2 separate regions of the Homo sapiens genome follow, and region 2 is linked to region 1. Evidence: promoter capture Hi-C in human tissues and cell types (Jung and others, 2019). All regions are on one chromosome and are shown on one strand. Each heading gives the region's core, a stretch centred on a gene start or on the middle of the fragment in contact. The rest is flanking DNA. Distances are from core to core; before and after follow the strand shown. Region 1 holds the start of ZNF579 (zinc finger protein 579). Region 2 holds the start of DNAAF3 (dynein axonemal assembly factor 3).

Region 1 (6,612 bases), core at 1,017-3,516:
TCGCCCCCCTCCGGCCCCTTGGCTGAGTTCCGTGCACCCGAGGCCTTGTCGTCCTTCTTGCCCGCCGCGGGCAGCGGGGCCAGCAGGCTGAGGGGGCCGTGGACGCGGCGGTGCTGGCGGAGGTAGGAGGCGAGGCGGAAGGCCAGGCCGCAGTCTGGGCACACGAAAGGGCGGTCGGTGGAGTGGACCAGCCGGTGGCGCGACAGGGACCAGGGCCTGGCGAAGGCCTTGAGGCAGATGGAGCACTGGTGTCGCTTGGGGCGTGGCGGGGGCCCCCCTTCCCCTTCCTGTTCGCCCTCGGGGCGCAGACACGGGTGCGCCTTGAGCTCGCCCTTGGTGGCGAAGGCTTCGCGGCAGCGCAGACACAGCAGCGTCCAGTCTGCCTGGAGCAGGACCTGTTTCTCCTCCTGCCGCCCGGCCGCCAGCGCCAGCTCGGCCCTCAGCTCTGCTGCCCCGGCCTCGGCCTCCTCCGACTCCGACTCCCGGGGCTCCGCGGCGCTGGTGGGCGCAGCCAGCGTGGAAGGCTCCCCCGCAGGCCACGTCTCAGGCCACGCTGCGACCGCCTCCTCCTCCGTGGCCCCTGCTGCAGCGGTGGTGGGCGGCTCCGAGCCCTCGTCCTGCGGGCCCCAGCTGGGTTCGGCCGTCTCCTTGGCCACCCTCTCGATGGCCAGCTCGACCTCGCCGCCCGCGTGCTCCTGAGCCAGGTGGCGCCTGAGCTGGGCCGGTTCTGGGAAGGTGCGGGGGCAGGCGGCGCAGCGCAGCGGGGGCTGGGGCCCGTGGCCGCGCAGGTGGCGGGAAAGGTGGGCCGGCCGGCGGAAGGCCTTGGGGCACAGCGGGCAGGCGTGGGGCCGGAGCCCCGAGTGGCTCAGCCGGTGCCGGGAGAGGTAGTAGGGGAAACGGAAGAGGCGGCCGCAGGTGGGGCAGGGCAGGGGCGCCCTAGGGGCTCCAGCGCCCCCCCTGCCACGGCCACGGCCCCGACCACGGCCTCGGCCACGGCCCCGGCCTCGGCCACGGTGAGGTGGGCTGCCCTGGGCGGGTGGAGGAGGCTGCGGATCCATGCCTGTGGGGAGAGAGGGGAGAGATGGGAAGCGGGGCAGAGATAAAAAGAGGTGCGTGGGGTGTGGCAGAAAGAGAAGCAGAGACAGTCAGAGATGGAGAGGCAGAGAGGGTCAGGTATTTAGCCAGGAGAGAGATATGAGACAGAGACAAAGATGAGAGACACCGAGGGGAGGCCAGAGATGGAGAGACAGGAGGAGAGAGATCAGAGACAGAGCGACAGAGCAGGGAATAGAGACAGGAGAAGGCAGAGATGGGAGACACAGAGAAGTGGGGATGGACAGACAGAGACCAGGAGTCGCAGAAAGACAGGATGGTGAAAGGCAGAGCAGAGAAGAGACAGAGGAGAGTGAGGAACACCCAGCAGAGAGACAGAGACACAGAGAAGAGGAAACAAAGAGACTTGGAGAACCAGAGGCAGAGATAGTGCAAGAGCAGAGATCAGAAGAGCAGTGGCGGGTTGGGGGCCGGAGAGACAGGGAGACAGAGACACAGAGGGAGTGAACTGGGCAGAGGCACGGAGGGGGACAAAGTCAGCGAACCGCTTCTGCTCCAGGTCCCCCGGCCAGGCTGAACGTTTTGGGAGGGGCTGGGACACAGCCCATGGGGCCTGAGTGGAGGGGGTGGGATTTGAAGCCGGTAGGCCCCGGAAATAGAGTGTGTTCTCAGATGCCAGGGGCTGGGAGAGGTCGGGGAGTAGGAGGGTTCAGACTTCTGGTCTGAGTTGGGAGGGGGCTAGGGGCCCAGACTCTTGGGACTGATGGGGATGGGAGCTGGGGATTGAGACTCCTGGGTCCAGGTCATGACGGATTGGGGAATCTGGACTCTGGTATGGAGGAGGTGTGGATTCCTGGGTCCCGGTGGAGGAGGGGCTGGGGAGGGGGCTGGGCTCCCAGGACAAGGGGGAGGCGGGGGCTGGGGACCCAGCTGCCGGGAATCCCCAGGGAGGAGGCGACTGAGGGCCGGACCCCTGGACTCGGGAGGGAGGCTGGTGGGGGTCGGGGGTCCCAGGTCCTAGAGGGGGGCCGATCTCCTCCGGGCCAAGCCTGCAGCTCCCCGAAGGCATGATCAGCAGAATTGGGGCCGGGTCGAGGCCTTGAGGATTTCTCAGCCCTGGGCCTGGGGCTTGGTCCTGGTCGCTGGGGCTGGGTTCTTACCTCGCCTCCTTGGCTCCTTTCTTCCTTCCCCACGGCCGGCCAAACGCGGACGGTGGTGGCGGGGAGGGAGGGGGGCCTGAGCGTGGTGGGGGGTGGAGGAGGAGGCTGGGCTCGGTGTCACTGCCTAAGCCTTCCCCCCGGAAACCTGGCCTTTCCTCGGAGCCTGAAAGAGGAAAGACTGGCTGGGAAGCCGGAAGCGGGAGGACGGGGGACCTGGAGAGGGGAGGGAAGGCAGCTTGCACTACAGGGTCCTGTGAGGGGAGGGGGCTGGGGGCCTGTCCCCCGGGCTCCCAGAGGGCGGAGGGTGCTGAGGGCCTGGAACACTGGGTCCAGCTACTCCCGGCTCCCCAACATGCACACACACATATTCATTCATTCCTTCAACAAATACACATTTATCAGGTCCTGTCTGTGCCAGGCACTGTGTCAGGCCAGGGGAGTGGCCGGGGGAGGAAGATGAATGAATCAGTGACAGAGGCTTCAGGAAGTACTGGCACTCTGGATCAGAACCTGGCTCCAGCCTTCCCTTGGCTGTCTGGGTGAAGGATTCTCCCACTTCGAGCCTCGGTTTCCCCCTTTGTGAAAGCCCCTGCATATACTCATTCAACCCTAAGCGACCAATATTTACTGAATATCTACTACGGGCCAGCCTGCATATATTTGTCTACATATACGCATATTCACTGGGACCTTAGCAGCCAATGTTTACTGAGCACCTACTATGGGCTGGTGCTGTCCTTGGTGCTGGAGTCACAGTGGCAAAAACCGGAGCTCACTGTCTGATGGGGAAGGCAGATAGATACGGATCAATCACGCTGGAGTGCATGTGGGGGAACGTGTGCTCCGAGGCAGGGAACTGCTATGGGAATGCAGAGAACAGAAGGCACTGAGCTGAGCTCACACTGGGAGGAGGTGATTCCTGAGGTCTTCCTGGAGGCAGCAATGTTTCAGCTGAAATTGGCAGAATGAAACCAACCTGGCGACATCTCAGAAACCTATTCTGGAGCAGAAAAGGCATTTTGCAGGAGTATACCCACAGCTTGACGCTGTTTGTTTAAGGTTACATTCCTGCCAAACAGTGCTAATGAGAGTGCGAGCAAACAGGTCCTTTCATACACGGCTGGGGCAAGTAGAACCTGGAACATTCTTACCGAGCCAGCAATTCCAGGAATTTATTCTTCAGAGGCATCTACTCGGAACTGCACAAAATAATGTCTGCACCAGGTTAATCATTGCAGTACTGCACATCACTGCAAACAGCTGAAACCAATCTAAACACCCATCTGTAGGAGAGCTGAGTAATAAATCATGACTGATCCACCCAGTGGAATACTAGGTGTCCATAGAAAAGAACAAAGAAGCTCACCGTGTGCATATATGGTAAGTCTCCAAGTGATAACCTGTAGAAGAGAAAAATGGAAGGTCAAGTACAGCCTGCAGCCTGTTCTGGGTTTGTGTGTGTTCTGGGATTGTGTCCAGATGAACTGGAACAAGAGAGAAGAAACTGAAACTGGCAACATAGTCTAACTTCCAGGACAGAAATTTACTACACTCTATCCTTGTTTTTTTGTTTGTTTGTTTTTTTTTGTTTTGTTTTGTTTTCTTTTGAGATGAGATCTCCTTCTGTTGCCCAGGCTGGCTGGAGGAAGTGCAGTGGTGTGATCTCGGCTCACTGCAGCCTCGACCTCCCGGGCTCAAGCAATCCTCCCACCTCAGCCTCCTGAGTAGGTGGGGCTACAGGAGTGTGCCACCATGTCTGGCTAATTTTTGTATGTTTTGTAGAGATGGGGTCTCCCTATGTTGCCCAGGCTGGGCTTGAACTCCTGGGCTCAAGCAATCCACCTGCCTCGGCCTCCCAAAGTGCTGGAATTACAGACATTAGCCACTGTGCCCGGCTTTTTGTACTTTTTGAATTCAAAACCGTGTGAATGTGCTATATACTCAAAAAAGTAAAGGAGGCCAAGCATGGTGGCTCACGCCTGTAATCTCAGCACTTTGGGAGGCCCAGGTGGGCAGATCACCTGAGGCCAGGAGTTCAAGACCAGCCTGGCCCACATGGTGAAACCCCATCTCTACAAAAGGTACAAAAATTAGCCAGGCATAATGGCACATGCCTATAATCCCAGCTACTCAGGAGGCTGAGGCAGGAGAATGGCTTGAACCTGGGAGGCAGAGGTTGCAGTGCGCTGAGATCGTGCCATTGCACTCCAGCCTGGGCAACAGAGCAAAACTCCACCTCAAAAAAAAAAAAAAAAAAAAAAAGAAAAGAAAAAAGTAAAGGAAAAAGAAATACATGGGGATTATAAAAATAAATGAAATGAAAAATAATAGCTTACTCTTGTGAGCGTATTACAAATATGATCCCATTTACTCCTTGCTTTATGAAGTAGGTACCATTATTTTTCCCTTTTACAGAGGATGAAAGTGAGATACTAGAAGTTTCCAAACCTAGCGAGTCTCAGTAAGAAGTTTCACTTCACAAACAGATAGGAGAAATGATAGTGGATCAGAAGCATGATTTAAAAGAAATAATAAAAGGCCGGGCGTGGTGGCTCATGCCTGTAATCCCAGCACTTTGGGAGGCCGAGGGAGGCAGATCACTTGAGGTCAGGAGTTCAAGACCAGCCTGGCCAACACGGTGAAACCGTCTCTACTAAAAATACAAAAATTAGCTGGGCATGGTGGTGCGCGCCTGCAATCCCAGCTAGTCCGGAGGCTGAGGCAGGAGAATCGCTTGATCCTGGGAGGCGGAAGTTGCAGTGAGCCGAGATCGTGCCACTGTACTCCAGCCTGCGACAGGGCAAGACTCCGTCTCAAATAAATAAATAAATAAATAAATAAATAAATAAATAAATAAATAAAATAGGAATGGGGTCTCACTCTGTTGCCCAAGCTAGTCTTGAATTCCTGAGCTCAAGCAATCCTTCCACCTCAGCCTCCGAAAGTGCTGGGATTACAGGCATTAACTACCGTGCCCAGACTAGGAGCATGCTTTTTAAAAGCACCTTGTCCATAATACTATATTTTAAAGAATATATACCATGGAATAAAAGTCTAAAAATGTCTGTGGTAATAATAGGCACCAAATTCAAGATATAAGTTATGTTTGAGATAGGAGAGGCAATCAGATCTTGGAGGGGGTGGTCCGCGGGGAGTCATTTGTATCCCTAATATTTCAAAGCTGGTAGTCAGAATATGGGTGTGTGTATTTTAACATGTTTTTTGTAAAATACACTTAAACTTTATAATTGTAACCATTTTAAATCACACAGCTCAATGGCACTAAGTAAATGTTGCACAACTATCCACGCTGTCTAGTTCCAGAACTCTTTTTTTTTTTTTTTTTTTGAGACAGAGTTACACTCTTGTTGCCTAAGCTGGAGTGCAATGGCGTGATCTCGGCTCACCGCAATCTCCGCCTCCTGGGTTCAAGCGATTCTCCTGCCTCAGTCTCCCAAATAGTTGGGATTACAGGCATGTGCCACCATGCCCAGCTTATTTTGTATTTTTAGTAGAGACAGGGTTTCTCCATGTTGGTCAGGCTGGTCTCAAACTCCCGACCTCAGGTGATCCACCTGCCTTGGCCTCCCAAAGTGCTGGGATTACAGGCGTGAGTCTCTTTCTTTCTTTCTTTCTTTCTTTTTGTAGATATGGGGTTTTGCTTTGTTCCCTAGCCTCATCTGAACTCCTGGTCTCAAGCCATCCTCCCACCTGAGCCTCCTAAAGTGCTAGGATTACAGGCGTATGCCACCATGTCCAGCCTAGTTCCAGAACCTTTTCATCAGCCCAAACAAACCCTAAGCCCATTAGCAGTCATTCCCACACTCCCTTCTATCCCCAGCCCCTGTCAACTAATAATCAGTTTTCTGTCTCTATGAATTTGCCTATTCTGGACATTTCATATCAATGGAATAATCATACCATATGTGTTCCTTTGTGACTAGCTTCTTTCACTTTGCATAAAAGTTTCTCCTCCTCCTCCACAAAGGACATTGCCCCCCTCTTTTTAAAAAGTGAGACAGGGTCTTTCTCTGTCGCCCAGGCAGGAGTGCATTGGTGCAATCACGGCTCACTGCAACCTCCACCACCAGGGCTCAAGCGATTCTCCCACCTCAGCCTCCCAGATAGCTGAGACTACGGGCATGCACCACCACGCCTGGCTGATTTTTGTTTTTGGTAGAGATGGGATCTCGCCATGTTGCCCAGTGTGGTCTTGAACTCCTGGGCTCAGATGACCAGCCCACCTCGGCCTCCTGAAGCACTGGGATTACAGGCGTGAGCCACCTCACCTGGCCAGCATAATGTTTCTAAGCTTCATGCGTGCCATGGCATGAGTTGGTTCTTCACTCCTTTTTGTGGCTGAATAGTATTCCTCTGCGTGAGTGCAGTCATCCCTCGG
Region 2 (6,504 bases), core at 1,774-4,273, 410 kb before region 1:
CAATACTATACAATTTTATAAGGGACTTGAGCATCCTTGGATCTTGGTATCTGCAGGGGTCCTGGAACCAGTCCCCAGTGTTACTGAGGGATGACTGTATATACCTTTGCATATAATATATATACACATAGACATACAAATAGTTTCATGTTAGTTGTTTAAGAACTTAATAGAAGAGAACTATGTGCCTTTAGTAAAATAGATCAGTTTAGTTCTAACTGTTTAAGAACTTTGAACAATCTGTACTGTGCAATGTACTCTGAATTCCCTGGGTCATTAATGACTGATATGGTTTGGATCTGTGTCCCTGCTTAAATCTCATGTTGAATTGTAATCCCCAATATTGGAGGCGGGGCCTGGTGGGAGGTGATTGGGTCACAGGGGCAGATTTCTCCCTTGCTGTTCTCGTGATAGTGAGTTCCCACAAAATCTGGTTATTTGCAAGTGTGCGCCTCTTCCCCACTGCCTCTCTTGCCCCTTTTCCTGCCGTGGAACAGATGCCTGCATCCCCTTCGCCTCCTGTCATGATTGTAAGTTTCCTGAGGCCTTCCCAGCCATACTCCCTGTACAGCCTGTGGAACTGTGAGTCAATTAAACCTCTTTTCTTGGGGCCGGGTGTGATCGCACCCGCCTGTAAACCTAGCACTTTGGCAGGCCAAGGCGGGCGGATCACCTGAGGTCAGCATCTCGAGACCATCCTGGCCAACATGGTGAAACCCCGGCTCTACTAAAAATACAAAACCTTAGCCGGGCATGGTGGTGCATGCCTGTAATCCCAGCTACTTGGGAGACTGAGGCAGGAGAATTGCTTGAATCCAGGAGGCAGAGGTTATGGAGAGCCAAGATCGTGCCATTGCACTCCAATCTGGGCAACGGGACAAGACTCTGCCTCAAATAAATAAATAAATAAACAAACAAACCTGTTTTCTTTTTCTTTCTTTCTTTTTTTTTTAGATGGAGGTTTTGCTTTTGTCGCCCAGGCTGGAGTGCAGTGGTGTGATCTCGGCTCACTGCAACCTCTGCCTCCCGGGTTCAAGTGATTCTCCTGCTTCAGCCTCCCGAGTAGCTGGGACTACAGGCGCCTGCCACCACACCCGGCTAATTGTTGTATGTTTAGTAGAGACGGGGTTTCACCATGTTGAGCAGGATGGTCTCGATCTCCTGACCTCGTGATCTGCCCACCTCAGCCTCCCAAAGTGCTGGGATTACAGGTGTGAACCACTGCACCCAGCCTCTCCTGGAATTTTCTAAGTGGCTCTAAGATGTATTATATTTAGCCCCATTTTACAGGTAGGAGGAGCTGAGGCTCTAAGATGGCAAATTACATCAGAGGGGACCATCATCAATAAATATATTGGATTTTTTTTTTCATCAGAGGTACCACACTGGAAAATACCAAACATTTTTGGTTTTTAGATGGAGTTTCGCTCTCTTTTTTTTTTTTTTTTTTTTTTTTTTGAGACGGAGTCTCGCTCTGTCACCCTGGCTGGAGTGCAGTGGCGCGATCTCAGCTCACTGCAAGCTCCGCCTGCCGGGTTCACGCCATTCTCCTGCCTCGGCCTCCCAAAGTGCTGGGATTAACAGGCGTGAGCCACCGCGCCCGGCCGGAGTTTCGCTCTTGTTGCCTAGGCTGGAGTGCAATGGCGCGATCTCGGCTCACTGTAACCTCCGCCTCCCAGGAAAATAACCAAACTTTTTAATTGTACCATTGAAATGCCAGAATCCCTCTAGGGAGGGGGAGGAGACCAGCGGTCAGAATGCCTGGGTCCTAGCAACAGACCTTGCAGCCCCATCTTCTCCGGTTCCTCCAGGGCTAGGCTGAAGATCAGCATGTGTCGGGCCACAGCTTCCAGATTATTCTCCAGCACAAAGAACTAGAAGGATGGACAGGGCAGAATAATTCTGAGACCTGTTTGCCTGGGTCCTAGGAGACCCAGGAGAGCAGGCCCTCAGCTCTCTCCTTCCACACACCCGAGTTCTGTACACCAGCCTCTTCCTTCAAACACAGAAGTCTGTGTCCCCAGAGCTCTCTTCCCTTCCATTACTCAGAAGACCTCATCCTCGAGCTCTTCCCCACTATAGAACCCAGGAGTTCCAAACCCCAGCCCCTTCCTTCCCCCAAGACGCATCGGTTCGCTCCCAGCTTCTGCCTCCCTCAGATCTAGGAGTCTCCAGCCCCTTCATTCCTGGACCTGAGGTTTTAGAATTTCAATCCCTTCCTCCCTCAAGGACTCGGGAATCTGGGCTCTCATCTTCATCCCAGCTCACGTTGAACCTCCTGCGAGGCCAGAACTTCGCTCGGGACAGGGTCCGCAGCAGGTGCCGTCCATCCACAGAGCCCAGAAGCAGCACATCTAGCTCGGGGTTGCTGTGCACTGTATCGGCCTGGGAGTCTGGGTCCACAGGAGGACCTGGCAAGATGACAGCTGGCTGGGGCACCATGGTGGTTGGCAGAGCGTCCACCGTAGCATCCCCTATAAAAAATGGACTACAAATCCCAGTAGGCGTTCCGCCCGTGGCCTAGGTTCTAAGGGGAGGTGTTTCCTCTGAGTATTCTGGGATTCGCAGTCCGCAGACAGGACCTCGGGGCTGCCCCTGGGAGCGCGCCCTCTGCCGCTGGAGCGTTGGAGAACGTTAGCGCCCCCCTTGCCACCGACGCTGGGACTACGAGCTCTAAAAGGCCGTCTGCTCAGGCTGGGAAGGCAGACGGTGTATCAGACCTTGCGTGCTGGGACTCACTTTCAGCCTGCAGGTCCAGCGCCGGGGACAGGCCCCACCAGGACACGGAGCCGAAGCCGCTGCCGGAGCCGGCAGGTGTGGTCATCACCCTGCGGAAAAGACATTCTGGGAATCGCACACATTGCCCGCCCCGCTCCCCTCTCACCGCCCCTCACTTCTCGCCCCTTTGCCTCCACATGATACCTTGCCCACACCTTTATCCTCCAAATATCCCGGGACGCCCCTTCCTCTCTGCTCAGTGCAGCACTGTGGACCCGCGGCACTCCACAACCGCTGCCCAGAGTCCCCGCCCTTTTCGAGGAATCAAGCAATGGAAGCATGTGGGATGGGACCACAGCGAGCAACTGACCAATGAGAGTGAGCGAGGCCCGCCCTCTACAAACTTTTGGCCAATGGGAGCACTGAGGGCCAGCCTTCCCCCACACCTAGGAGAAGAGGGCGTGTGGACGCGGTTGTCATGACGACGGCGCCGGCGGGGGAAGGGGCGGTGCTAGAACAGGTTGGGGCGGAGTCAGGGTCGGTCCAAATTTCTGGAATGGGGGAGGCCTGGGCTGATTAAAATTGAGAGTGAAGGGAGCTTAATCTTATTTCTTGTTTTTTGTTTTTTTGTTTTCTTCATATGCCTTTGCTCATACGTAACGGAATTTTCATCAATTCAAATAAAGTGAAGTGTCTAGACTTTAGATGGCAGGCTTCTGAGCCCGCTCCCCGCCCCAGCACAACGTGGGCTCTACCACACAGAACAGCCCACAGGTGGGACACTGATGTGCAGGTCATTAAAAATTCAGGGATTTGTGAGCTGGTTATTGTTACACGAAGCCATAATTTAAACTTACAGCTAGATCCTTTTGTAGTTTCTAAGCGGGATGATTGGGTGTTCACGCGCATGCGTGAGATGTGCCTCCCTCAAACCTTGTTACGACATCGGCACATTACTCTTCTGACATGAACAAAAAAATTACAGGTAAATTCTGTAATCGTACAGTTAAATCAACTGCATTAAAATAAGGGTAAGTCGGCCGGGCGCTGTGGCCACGCCTGTGATCCCAACACTTTGGGAGGTCAAGGTGGGCAGATAACTTGAGGTCAGAAGTTGGAGACCAGTCTGGCCAACATGGTGAAACCGCGCCTCGACCTTAAAAAATACAAAAATTAACCGGGCGTGGTGGCACGCACCTGTAATCCCAGCTACTCCGGAGGCTGAGGCAGGAGAGTCTGTTGAACCTGGGAGGCAGAGGTTGCAGTGAACTGAGATCGCGCCTCTGAACTCCAGCCTGGGCGACAGAGCAAGACTCTGTCTCAAAAAAAAAAAAAAGAAAAACCAAAGTCTGAATGAGGCACATCTCTAGATCACCCCAGCACCCAGCACTGGGCTCAGCGCCCAAGGGGACTTGGCTCTCTGCCTCCTCTCCTTGCCCAGACACATGAGCTTAGACCAGTCACCCTTTCTGAGCCTCAGTCTGCTGCTCTGTGAAATGGGAATGTAGCGTGCAGCGGGCAGAGGTGCAGCGGATCTGCCTCCTGAGGGCAGATCTGGGCACTGGGAAGACAATACCTACTGGGGAAACGAAGGTTGAGACCTCAGACATTCCTGCAGAATCAGGCTGGCTAACCAGCCCCTTCCAGGCCAGCTCTAAGCCTGCAAGAGCCCCAGATCCTGGGTTTCTCTCTGGAGAATTAATGCCTTTCCTCCCTATTTCTCCCACTCTCCCAACAAATTCTCAGCAAAGGAACCAGAGTGACATTTTTTTTTTTTGAGATGGAGTCTTGCTGTGACACCCAGGCTGGAGTGCAGTGGCGCGATCTCGGCTCACTGAAACCTCCGCCTCCCGGGTTCAAGCGATTCTCCTGTCCCAGCCTCCCAGGTAGCTGGGACTACAGGCATTTGCCACCACACCAGCTAATTTTTGTATTTGTATTTTATTTTGTGTATATATATATATATACACACACAAAATAAAATACAAATATATGTATATATATTTATATATACACAAAATAAAATACAAATATTTTGTATATATATACAAAATAAAATACAAATATACATATATATACATATATATATATATATATATAGAGAGAGAGAGAGAGAGAGAGAGAGAGAGAGAGTTTCACTCTTGTTGCCCAGGCTGGAGTGCAATGGCGCGATCTCGGCTCACCGCAACCTCCGCCTCCCGGGTTCAAGCCATTCTTCTGCCTCAGCCTCCCGAGTAGCTGGGATTACAGGCAGGCGCCAGGACGCCCGGCTAATTTTGTATTTTTTGTAGAGACAGGGTTTCTCCGTGTTGGTCAGGCTGGTCTCCAACTCACGACCTCAGGTGATCTGCCCGCCTTGGTCTCTCAAAGTGTTGGGATTACAGGTGTGAACCACCGAGCCAGGCGATTTATTTATTTATTATTTTTTTTTTAGAGACGGAGTCTTGCTCTGTCGCCCAGGCTGGAGTGCAGTGGCACGATCTTGGCTCACTGCAACCTCCGCTTCCCGGGTTCTAGCAATTCTCCTGCCTCAGCCTCCCAAGTAGCTGGGATTACAGGCGCACGCTGCCACGCCCAGCTAATTTTTTGTATTTTAGTAGAGACGAGGTTTCACCGTGTTGCCCAGGCTGGTCTCGAATTCCTGAGCTCAGGCAATCCACCTGCCTTGGCCTCCCAAAGCGCTAGGATTACAGGCGTGAGCCACCGTGCCCAGCTCCAGCGATTCTTTTTTATTTTTAGTAGAGACGGGGTTTCACCATGTTAGCCAGGCTGGTCTCGAACTCCTGACTTCAAGAGTTCCGCCGGCCTCAGCCTCCCAAAGTGCTGGAATTACCGGTGTGAGCCACTGCACCTGGCCCAGAGTGATCTTAAACATAAATCAAATAATGTCTCCCACCTCTTCAAATCCTCCAAAGTCTTCCCGCTGCACCTGGACACATTCCCCGCTCCTTAGCTTGGCTCCCTATGCCCTATGCAATCTGCAGTCATCCACCCCTGAAGCCACATCAGCCTCCTGGCTCCTTGGAGAACACACCAAGCCGTTTGAACCCCAGGGCCTTTGCAACTTGGGATTCTTTTGCCTTAAATTATCTTCCCCCTCATCTTTGTTTTCTATATATTTATTTTTGAGACAAAGTCTTGCTCTGTTATCCAGACTTGAGTTCAGTGGTGTGATCATAGCTCACTGCAGCCTCAACCTCTCAGGCTCAAGCAGTCCTCCCACCTCAGTCCCCTGAGTAGCTGGGACCACAGGCAAGTGCCGCCATGCCCGGATATTTATTTATTTATTTATGTAGAGAAAGGGTCTCACTAGTTGCCCAGGCTGTTATTTATTTACTTATTTGAGATGGAGTTTCACTCTTGTTGCCCAGGTTGGAGTGCAATGGCGCTATCTCGGCTCACTGCAACGTCCACCTGCCGGGTTCAAGCCATTCTCCTGCCTCAGCCTCCTGAGTAGCTGGGACTACAGGCATGTGCCATCACGCCCAGCTAATTTTGTATTTTTAGTAGAGACAGGGTTTCTCCGTGTTGGTCAGGCTGGTCTCAAACTCCCGACCTCAAGTGATCCGCCGGCCTTGGCCTCCCAAAATTCTGAGATTACAGGCGTGAGCCACTGCGCCCGGCTGTATTTATTTATTTATTTATTTAAGGCAGGGACTTGCTCTGTTGCCTAGGCTGGAGTACTCCAGCCTGAAACTCCTGGGCTCAATCGATCCTCCCACCTCTGCTCCCCAAGTAGCTAGAACTATAGCCACGTGCCAGCATACCTAGCTAACTTTACAAATT

What was found. Contacts are between HindIII fragments. The study calls those that stand out against the background at their distance.
Region 2: the fragment with the promoter of DNAAF3 here is called in contact with the fragment with the promoter of ZNF579 in region 1 in 1 of the 25 tissues and cell types used here (dorsolateral prefrontal cortex).

Annotation. Positions count from the first base shown.
Region 1 is chr19:55,578,582-55,585,193 of GRCh38, forward strand. It overlaps ZNF579 (zinc finger protein 579), which reads right to left and starts at 2,267. Exons shown (of 2, transcript NM_152600.3): 1 at 2,214-2,267; 2 at 1-1,060. The coding sequence starts at 1,058. RefSeq lists silencers at 2,471-2,610, 3,322-3,616. The HindIII fragment of the contact is 17,237 bases long and covers 1-6,612 here.
Region 2 is chr19:55,163,590-55,170,093 of GRCh38, forward strand. It overlaps DNAAF3 (dynein axonemal assembly factor 3), which reads right to left and starts at 3,024. Exons shown (of 12, transcript NM_001256715.2): 1 at 2,934-3,024; 2 at 2,740-2,828; 3 at 2,269-2,411; 4 at 1,781-1,874. The coding sequence starts at 2,824. DNAAF3-AS1 (DNAAF3 antisense RNA 1) reads left to right here. Exons shown (of 4, transcript XR_007067345.1): 3 at 955-1,211; 4 at 2,230-3,315. It overlaps LOC124904795 (small nucleolar RNA U13), which reads left to right and starts at 3,582; the gene lies at 3,582-3,685. RefSeq lists a silencer at 2,404-2,635. The HindIII fragment of the contact is 9,836 bases long and covers 1-6,504 here.